Linked DNA regions of Homo sapiens: region 2 is linked to region 1. The links are contacts of gene promoters, found by promoter capture Hi-C in human tissues and cell types (Jung and others, 2019). All regions are on one chromosome and are shown on one strand. Each heading gives the region's core, a stretch centred on a gene start or on the middle of the fragment in contact. The rest is flanking DNA. Distances are from core to core; before and after follow the strand shown.

Region 1 (5,232 bases), core at 1,848-4,347:
TGAAGAAAAACATGAAAGAAGGGAACAAGGCACCACCACTGCCACCCTCCCCACCCTCCAATTTGAGCAGTTTTTGCGGCAAGTATCTTAGAGCTGCAATTCCGGGAGAAAAATCGTGTGTTCTTTCTACCCACAGGAAAGGAGACAGAATGAAAGAAGGAAAGCCCGGGACAACAGAAATTCTTTCAATGTTGAACTGTCCCTGATGGACACTTGAAAACCGGCTCCGGCAGCAGAGCCGACCCGCCAGGCCCAGGGGCTCCCGGGCCCCTCCTGGGGCTGTCAGGCTAATCCGGCAGCCGCCTCCCACCCCGCCCCGCTCTGGGGGACTTTTGCTCGGGTGACTAAAGTTCAAACTCGGCTAAAGCAAGCCCTGGGAGGCGCTTTAAACAGGAAAGTGGCGCGGCCGCCCGAGAGAGCCCGGGTAGCGGCCCCCGGAAACCAGGCGGCGGGCAGAGGCCGCGGGGTGGGGAGGCCGGGTTGGCTGGGTGGGGAGGCCGGGTTGGCGGGGCGGCCCGGACCTCCCGGCTGCCCGCGCTAGCACCTGCCCAAGGCTCGGGTCTCTCAGAGGCACGGAGCTTTCTCTGCGGAAATGGCCAGGCTCCTGGGCGCGCTGGCGGCCCTGGACCGCCAAGCAGGGAGCCCCCTCTCCGGCCGCGGCCCGCCGGGCTGAGAGACCACAGATTAAGTGCGCCTTGGTTCTCTCAGGGATGCTATTTTGCTCCGGCCCGGGTCTCTCCCGCGCCGAGTTGCACAACAAACCATTTAAACATTTCAGCACAAAACCCGATCCATTGTGGGGCCGCACATTAAAAAGTGTTATTCGCTTTGAAGTTTTTGTCTAATGGCTCTAAACTGAAAGAAAATGTTTTCCTATTACTTAATTCAATCATAGCGAAGAGACTTGGTAAAAAGCCCACGGATTTTGCCCCAAAGTGTGACAGAGTTCTCTTTGTGTTTGCTTATCCTTCGCTGTCACACACTTTAATTCGCCTCTCTTTATCTGGCATTCAAAACTTTCTTCAATGACATTCAATAAGGTCCAGAGGCTGGAGAGAGGAAAAAAAAAAAAACCTGGTTATTCCCCCCACCCCCACCCCCACCCCCATATTCTTTCCCAGTAGCTTTGGCCTTGCTCGCATTCAGGGGCTCTTAACCCCTTCCTCCCCGGGCACGCGGGGCGGCTGCCAGTGGAGCTCCACGCTGGCCACTCGCGGGCTCCCAGCTCCGGGTGCAGTGCCCGCCCCTTGCACCCCTGGGCCCCGCCCGCCCTTGCGCCCCTCCAGCCTGCCTCTGCCCAGCGGAAAGCCCCTCTCCCCGCCCGGGTCTCGCTCTTCGCTTCCTCTCAGCGACCCAGCCCAGCTCAAATTTCCCAGAGAGCAATTAGAACGGGAATTAGGCTGCATTGATGCGTTCCGGCTGGTTTGCAGGCACCACCCTAGAGTGGGGGAGCCTTGGCGCTGAGACTCTGTCTCAGAGGGCAGCCTTGCCCCCCACTCCATGCCAAGCAACCAAGAAAACATTGAACCCTTACTCCTGCTAGATGCCATGCCCTCCATGCAGGTTACTTCTCCCATTGTCCTATTCCCTTTTACAGAAGCAGTTATTATCTCGCAAAACAAATTATCTTTGCTTTTTAATCAGTTATAATCTGTTGCTGTTGTTATTGCAAAGATGTTGCCAAGGATAAAAGCCCATGCAGATGCTTCGGGTTTGGGCAATCTTATTCCTGCGCACTGCTTCCCCAGACCCCTAAGCTTCCCCCTCCATTTCTCACAATTCCATTCAGGGCTCAGAGCAGGTGACTGCAGCGATTTGGTTCCAATAAAATCGAAAGTAAACGTCTCCTGTGAAAAGTCCCGGGCTGTAAATTAGAAATGTTTATGCTGATTTCCCATTGTATGGAAAAAGCTCCTGGGCGAAACAGCTTTGAGCCCGAGAACGATTTAAAAAGCTGGAGCTGTGTACACAGCTCTGAGCGTTTGAAGTTGTTTAACCATTGTGTGACCAGAAAGAAGAGTGACGCGGCAGGAAGAAGAAGCCGGGTCTTGGGGAGAGCGGAGGCGGGTCAGGGTGGGCAAAGGCAGCCGATGCCAGGAATACAACCGCCCTTCGCGCCGTTCCAAACTAAGAGATGGCAGCGGTTTCCCAGCGCACTGCTGGAAGTGTGCTCCAGTAGACAGGGTGTGGGCAAGATGCGCGGGCAGACAGTCCGCACTCGCCACATGTGCTGGGGTGCGAGATCTAGATCTGCGCCATCTCGGCTTTCATTCCCCATTCCCTGTCTCTGTTCGTAACGCTCAGAGACTGTTTTTCCTCTTTTACATCCACGGCCCTGTCATTTGAAGGAAAGGGCTGGTTGGCCAGCATCTACCGAACAAAGACTGGGCGTCGTAGGCAGCACCAAAATTAAGACTATTTGAGAAACTTAGAGAAAACCGAGGGACAGCGATGGGTCTAGGGCTGGATAAGGAATAATGAGCCCTTCTCCTCCCTCCCCACAGACGCCTCCTTCACGCGGGAACCCGGTCCTCCTTCTTCCGACGCAGAGAGAGAAGCGATTCCACAGGTGGAAAATCTGAGACCGGCTGGAGGGAGGTTCGGGGGTGCACGGCACTGAGCTGACAGGGCTGACTGGAGACAGCATACTTTTGGGGTGTAAGGGCGATAATAGAAAGAAGGGGACCAGGACCAAGTGGACAGAGGATATGAGGGTGTGCGCCCATGGGGATCTGTAGAAGAGAGGCCGCGGGGGTGCAAAATCAGTAAGGTGAACGGGCTGATGGCCAATGCAAAGCCAAAGGGGAGTAAGAAATAAAGAGAAAGGAAAGAATATTAAATCGCGGGAGAATGAGAAAATAAACCCGCAAAAGGGAGAGGAGGGGGCGAGGGCGCCTGTTACGGCGTGGGTGGGGTTGACAAGAATAGAGTACATTATGCAGTTCATTTAGTTAACAAGTGAAATAATGAGGAAGCGTGCAGAGTGAATGCCAAGAGAAAAGGCACAAAAACCCTATTGAGAGGCCCCGGCCGCTCCTGGCGTAGTCCATCACATGGCAATAGTCCTATTTAAGCCGCGCCGCCGGCGCCTTTCAGCACCACTAGCGCTGGCCAGCACCCCGCGCTCTTTGGGCGGTGCCCACGGCAGCAGAGGCTACTGTTTCAGCCTAGGTCTCAGCCGCGCGTTCAGCCTCCTGGGCAGAGGCAGCTGCGGGATACCGCGGCCAGGGAAAGCGCGTGGAGAGCCGAAAGGTGCGGTGGGCGCAGAGGGCGGGCTGGCTGCGGGGCGACCGCGCGCCGGGGCCATGCCGCGCTCCTTCCTGGTGGACTCGCTAGTGCTGCGCGAGGCGGGCGAGAAGAAGGCGCCCGAGGGCAGCCCGCCGCCGCTCTTCCCCTACGCTGTGCCCCCGCCGCACGCGCTGCACGGTCTCTCGCCTGGCGCCTGCCACGCGCGCAAGGCTGGGCTGCTGTGCGTGTGCCCGCTCTGCGTCACCGCCTCGCAGCTGCATGGGCCCCCCGGGCCGCCCGCGCTGCCTCTACTCAAGGCTTCCTTCCCACCCTTCGGCTCGCAGTACTGCCACGCGCCCCTGGGCCGCCAGCACTCTGCTGTGTCGCCCGGGGTCGCTCACGGCCCGGCCGCCGCTGCTGCTGCCGCCGCGCTCTACCAGACCTCCTACCCGCTGCCTGACCCCAGGCAGTTCCACTGCATCTCTGTGGGTAAGCGGGGCCGCCGCGCAGAGGGACCGGGCAGAGGTGATCCGAAGCAGGATGGAGAGCCAGAGATGGAGGAAGAGGGACCCTGGGCTTTCTGGGGGCGGTGAGGGTCATGTCGGGGACTAAGGGGGGCGCTTGGGGTGGAGTGAGGATAGAGGGCCGGGACACAACGCCAGGAGGCGGATGAGGGCAGACGTCCAGGTCCTGGAGTGTGGGCCGGGGTAAGTGAGGGCTGGGATCCAAGGCTCTCCATGAAGGGGAAGGGGTTCCAGGGCTGCATGACTCCGGGAGAATCAGGATCTCGGAGCTGGACAAGGAGCGCTCACTGTAGCTCTGCTGTGGATTGTGTTGGGGCGAAGAGATGGGTAAGAGGTCAAAGTCGTAGGATTCTGGCGACCGCCTACCAAGGGATTGGGTCCACAGCACAGAGGTCTGATCGCTTCCTTCTCTGCTCTGCCACCTCCAGACAGCAGCTCTAACCAGCTGCCCAGCAGCAAGAGGATGCGCACGGCTTTCACCAGCACGCAGCTGCTAGAGCTGGAGCGCGAGTTCGCTTCTAATATGTACCTGTCCCGCCTACGTCGCATCGAGATCGCGACCTACCTGAATCTGTCCGAGAAGCAGGTGAAGATCTGGTTTCAGAACCGCCGAGTGAAGCACAAGAAGGAGGGCAAGGGCAGCAACCATCGTGGCGGCGGCGGCGGGGGTGCCGGTGGTGGCGGGAGCGCACCGCAAGGCTGCAAGTGCGCATCGCTCTCCTCAGCCAAGTGCTCCGAGGATGACGACGAATTGCCCATGTCTCCGTCCTCCTCAGGGAAGGACGACCGGGATCTTACGGTCACTCCCTAGGCGCGTGTCTCCCTAGGTCGCCCACCCCAAGACCTCCCTGCGCCTCGGAGACTAGTCCTGGGACTCAGCGCTGATTCCCAGGCACCCGCAGCCAAACCACTGCCTGGCATGGATTTGGCACTGCTTTGCAGAGGTCCCGGGCCTGGGCAGGGCTGAGAGCTTGGCAGAGACTGGACCATGGCGTCCCCGCCCCAGGGCTCGCTCGTGTCCAAAGCCAACTCCAAGCTGTGAACACTGTAAGCGCTCGAGTCCTCCTGGGCAGTGCAGCACCGCGGCCCCCGCCCGCAAGCCTGCTTGGCGCAGCGCCTTGCTGGCAGCCGGCGCCTCCTAGCCCGCCCTCTCTGGGCTGGCTTGGGCTTCCTCGCTTACTCTACTCTCCTCCGCTCTCGGTCAAGGTCGGCGGCCTTGGATGCTCGTTCGCTTCTCTTTTTAAAATGTCTTTTTGTCCCTCCCCACCTCTTTCCTGTGATCATTTATTCACTCGGCCCCCGCCCGCCAACACACACATTTATGAACCCCCACTTTTTTTTTCCTTCTCCTTTTCCCTTCCCCTCCTCAGGGAGCCTCCTCCTTCAGTCAGTCCATTTGTCCCTTGATCTGGCCTTGCTGTCCTCAGTCCCCACGGCTCCTCTCACAGATGATAAATTTCGCCCGTAGTATCCATATTGG
Region 2 (5,232 bases), core at 1,858-4,357, 1.5 Mb before region 1:
GCATCAGGTAACCTATAAAGGAAAACCTATCAGATTAACAGCAGATTTCTCAGCAGAACCCCTACAAGCCAGAAGGGATTTGGATCCTATCTTTAGCCTCTACAAACAAAATAATTGCCAGCCAAGAATTTCATATTGAGCAAAATGAACCTTCATAAATGGAAAGATAAAGTCTTTCTCAGACAAACAAATGCTGAGAGGATTCACCATCACCACACCAGCACTACAAGAAATGCTAAAAGGAGTTCTAAATGTTGAAGCAAAACCTTGAAATACACCAAAATAGAACCTTCTCAAAGCGTAAATCTGATGACCTACACAACAGTAACACAATGGAAGCAAAAAGGTATTCAGGCAACAAATAGCACGATGAATAAAACAGTACCTCACATCTCAATACCAACATTGAATGTAAATGGCCTAAATGCTCCTCTTAAAATACATATAATGGCAGAATGGATACAAGTCCACCAACTAAGTATCTGCTGTCTTCAAGAGACTCACCTAACACATAAGGACTCACATAAACTTAAGGTAAAAGGGTGGAAAAAGATATTTCATGCAAATGGAAGCCAAAAGCAAGCAGGAATAGCTATTCTTATATCAGACAAACTTTAAAGCAACAACAGTTAAAAAAGACAAAGAAGGACATTATATAATAATAAAAGAATCCAGCAGGAAAATATCACAGTCCTAAATATATATGGACCTAACATTGGAGTTCCAAATTTATAAAACAATTACTACTAGACTTAAGAAATGGGATAGATGGCAACACAATAATAGTGGGGGATTCTAATACTCCATTGACAGCACAGGTCATCAAGACAGAAAGTCAACAAAGAATGGACTTAAACTATACCATAGAACAAATGGACTTAACAGATATTTACAGAATATTCCACCCAACAACTGCAGAATATACATTCTTGTCAGCACATGGAACATTCTCTAAGATAGACCATATGATAGGTCATGAAACAGGTCTCAATAAATGCAACAAAATTGGCTGGGCACGGTGGCTCATGCCTGTAATTCCACCACTTTGGGAGGCCGAGGCGGGCGGATCACAAGGTTAGGAGATCGAGACCTTCCTGGCTAACACGGTGAAACTCCGTCTCTACTAAAAATAAAAAAATTAGCTGGGCGTGGTGGCACGTGCCTGTAGTCCCAGCTACTCTGGAGACTGAGGGAGGAGAATTGCTTGAACCTGGGAGGCAGGGGTTGCAGTGAGCCAAGATCGTGCCACTGCACCCCAGCCTGGGCAACAGAATGAGACTCCGTCTCAAAAAAAGTAGACTGGGCACAGTGGCTTATGCCTATAATCCCAGCACTTTGGGAGGCTGAGGCGGGCGGATCACAAGGTCAGGAGTTTGAGACCAGCCTGGCCAATTTGGTGAAACCCCTTCTCTACTAAAATACAAAAAATTAGCCAGCCGTGGTGGCGTGCGCCTATAGTCCCAGCTACTCGGGAGGCTGAGGCAGGGGAATCACTTGAACCCTGGAGGTGGAGGTTGCAGTGAGCCGAGATCATGCCACTGCACTGCAGCCTGGCGACAGAGCAAGACTCCATCTCAAAAAAAAAAAAAAAAGTAACAAAATCAAAATTATATCAGGTACCTTCTCAGACCACAGTGGAATAAAATTGGAAATCAACTCCAAAAGGAACCATCAAAACTGTACAAATACATGGAAATTAAATAATCTGCTTCTGAGTGATCTTTGGCTTAACAATGAAATCAAGGTGGAAATTAAAAAATTCTTGCAACTGAACAGTAATAGTGACACAACTTACCAAACTTCTGGAATATAGCAAATGTGGTGCTGAGAAGAAAGGTCATAGCATTAAATGCCTGCATCAAAAAGTCTGAAAGAGCACAAAATCTAAGGTTACACCTCAAGGAACTAAAGAAACGAAGAACAAACCAAACCCAAACCCAAACGCAGCAGAAGAAAATAAATAACAAAGATTAGAGCAGAACTAAACAAAATTGAAACAGATAAACAAAAACAAAAGATAAATGCAAGAAAAAGCTGTTTATTTGAAAAGATAAACAACATTGAAAGACCATTAGTAAGATTAACCAAGAAGAGAGATGTAAATAAGCTCAATTAGAAATGAAATGGGAAATACTACAACTGATACCACAGAAATATAAAAGATTATTCAAGTTTACTGTGAGCACAAACTAGAAAATCTAGAGATGGATAAATTCCTGGAAATATACTACCCTACTAGATTAAATTGGAAGAAATAGAAACTCTGAACAGACCAGTAACAAGTAGCAAGATTGAAACAGTAATGAAAAAACTGCCAACAAAAAAAATTCCAGGACTGGATGGATTCACAGCTAGATTCTATCAGGCATTCAGAGAAGAATTGGTATCAGTTTTACTAAAACTATTCCACAAGATAGAGAAGGAGGGTACCCTCCCCAAATAAGTCTTTGAAGCCAGTATCACCCTAATACCAAAATCAGGAAAGGTTATAATAACAACAACAAAAACAAAAAGAAGGAAAGAAGGAAGGAGGCAGCAAGTGGGGGAGGGAGATTGGGGAGGGAGGAAGGAAAAGAAAACCACATACCAATATCCCTGATGAACATAAATGCAAAAATCCTCAAAAAAAAAAAAAAGTCTGGGTACAGTGGCTCATGCCTGTAATCCCAGCAATTTGAAAGGCTGATGTGGGTGGATCACCTGAGATCAGGAGTTTGAGACCAACCTGGCCAACATGTTGAAACCCTGTCTCTACTAAAAATACAAAAGTTAGCCGGGCGTGGTGGCACACGCCTGTAATTCCAGCTACTCAGGAGGCTGAGGCAGGAGAATCGCTTGAACCCGAGAGGTCGAGTGAGCTGAGATCATGCCACTGCACCCCAGTCTGGGCAACAAGAGCGAAACTCCGTCTCAAAAAAACAAAACAAAACAAAACAAAACAAAAACTAGCTAACCAAATTCAATAGCTTATCAAAAAGATAATACACCATAATCAAGTGGGTTTCATAACAGGGATGTAGTGATGAATTAACACATGGAAGTCAATAAATGTGATCCATCACATAAACAGAATTAAAAACAAAAATCAAAGATCGTATCAATAGTTGCAGAAAAAGCATTTAACAATATGATTAAAACCCTTAGCAAAATCAGTATAGAAGGGAGATACCTCGAAGTAATAAAAGCCGTCTGTGACAAACCCACAGCCAACATTATACTGAATGAGGAAAAGTTGAAAACATTTCCCCTGAGAACTGGAACAAGACAAGGATGCTCACTTTCACCACTTCCATTCGACATTGTACTAGAAGTCCCAGCCAGAGCAGTCAGACAAGAGAAGGAAATAAAGCGGATCCACATTGGTAAAGACAAAGTCAAACTGTCACTGTTCACCAATGATATGATCATATACCTAGAAAACCCTAAAGACCCAGAAAGCTCCTTGATCTCATGAATGAATTTAGTAAAGTTTCAGGATACAAAATCAGCGTACACAAATCAGAAGCATTGCTAAACACCAACAATAACAAAGCCGAGAATCAAATCAAGGACTAAAACCCCTTTACAACAGCTGCAATAAATAAATAAACAAACAAACAAATAAATAAAATACTTACGAATATACCTAATCAAGGAGGTGAAACATCTCTGCAAGGAAAACTGCAAAACATTGCTGAAAGAAATCATAGATGACTCAAACAAATGGAAACACATGCCAAGCTCTTGGATGGGTAGAATCAATATTGTGAAAATGACCATACTGCCAAAAGCAATCTACAGATTCAATGCAATTCCCATCAAAATACCATCGTCATTCCTCACAGAACTAGAAAAAACAATCCTGAAGTTCATATGGAACCAAGAAAGAGCCCACATAGCCAAAGCAAGACTAAGCAAAAAGAACAAATCTGGAGGCATCACATTATCTGACTTCAAGCTATATACTACAAGGCTATAGTTACCAAAACAGTATGGTACTGGTATAAAAATAGGCATGTAGACCAATGGAACAGATGAGAGAACCCAGAAATAAAGCCAAATACTTACAGCCAACTGATCTTTGACAAAGCAAACAAAAACATTAAATGGGGAAAGGACATCCCATTCAATAAATGGTGCTGGGATAATTGGCAAGCCACATGTAGAAGAATGAAACTGGATCCTCATCTCTCACCTTATACAAAAATCAACTCAAGATGGAGTAAAGACTTAAATCTAAGATCTGAAATTATAAAAATTCTAGAAGATAACATCGGAAAAACCCTTCTGGGCATTGGCTCAGATAAGGACTTCATGACCAAGAATCCAAAAACAAATGCAGCAAAAACGAAGATAAGTAGATTATTAAACGAAAAAGCTTCTGCACAGTAAAAGAAATAATCAGCAGAGTAAACAGACAACCCACAGAGTGGGAAAAACAATATTCTCAACTGTGCATCTGACAAAGGACTAATACCCAGAATCTACAAGGAACTCAAATCAGCAAGATAAAAAACAATCCCATCAAAAAGTGGGCAAGGGACATGAATAGACAGTTCTCAAAAGAAAATATACAAATGGCCAACAGACATATGAAAAAATGCTCAATATCACTAATTATCAGGGAAATGCAAATCAAAACCATAAGGAGATACCACCTTACTCCTGGAAGAATGGCCGTAATTTAAAAAATCAAGAAACAACAGATGTTGGTGTAGATGTGGTAAAAAGGGAACACTTTTACACTGCTGGTGGGAAAGTAAACCACTATGGAAAACAGTATGGAGATTCCTTAAAGAACTAAAATAGAACTACCATTTGATCCAGCAATCCCAGTACTGGGTATCTACTCAGAGGAAAAGAAGTCATTATTTGAAAAAGACACTTGCACACACATTTATAGCAGCACACTTCACAGTTGCAAAAAAATGGAGCCCACTTAAATGCCCATCAACAAACAAGTGGATAAAGAAAATGTAGTGTCTATATGTATATATACAGCTCTGTCGCCCAGGCTGGAGTGCAGTGGTGCGATCTCGGCTCACTGCAACCTCCAACACACATACACACCATGGAATACTGTTCACCCATAAAAAGGAATGAAATAATGGCATTCGCAGCAACCTGGATGGAGTCGGAGACCATTTTTCTAAGTTCAGTAACTCAGGAATGGAAAACCAAACATCATATGTTTTCACTTATAAGCGGGAGCTAAGCTATGAGGATGCAAAGGCATAAGAGTGATATAATGGA

The links. Contacts are between HindIII fragments. The study calls those that stand out against the background at their distance.
Region 2: a fragment that was not itself captured here is called in contact with the fragment with the promoter of GSX1 in region 1 in 1 of the 25 tissues and cell types used here (dorsolateral prefrontal cortex).

What each region holds. Positions count from the first base shown.
Region 1 is chr13:27,789,386-27,794,617 of GRCh38, forward strand. GSX1 (GS homeobox 1) reads left to right here and starts at 3,098. Exons shown (of 2, transcript NM_145657.3): 1 at 3,098-3,717; 2 at 4,181-5,232. The coding sequence starts at 3,306. The coding sequence ends at 4,563. RefSeq lists an enhancer at 3,025-3,828. The HindIII fragment of the contact is 15,189 bases long and covers 1-5,232 here.
Region 2 is chr13:26,282,321-26,287,552 of GRCh38, forward strand. The region is part of intron 1 of CDK8 (cyclin dependent kinase 8); the gene reads left to right. Among named protein-coding and RNA genes, the nearest start is that of CDK8, 31 kb to the left of the region's middle. The HindIII fragment of the contact is 4,573 bases long and covers 822-5,232 here.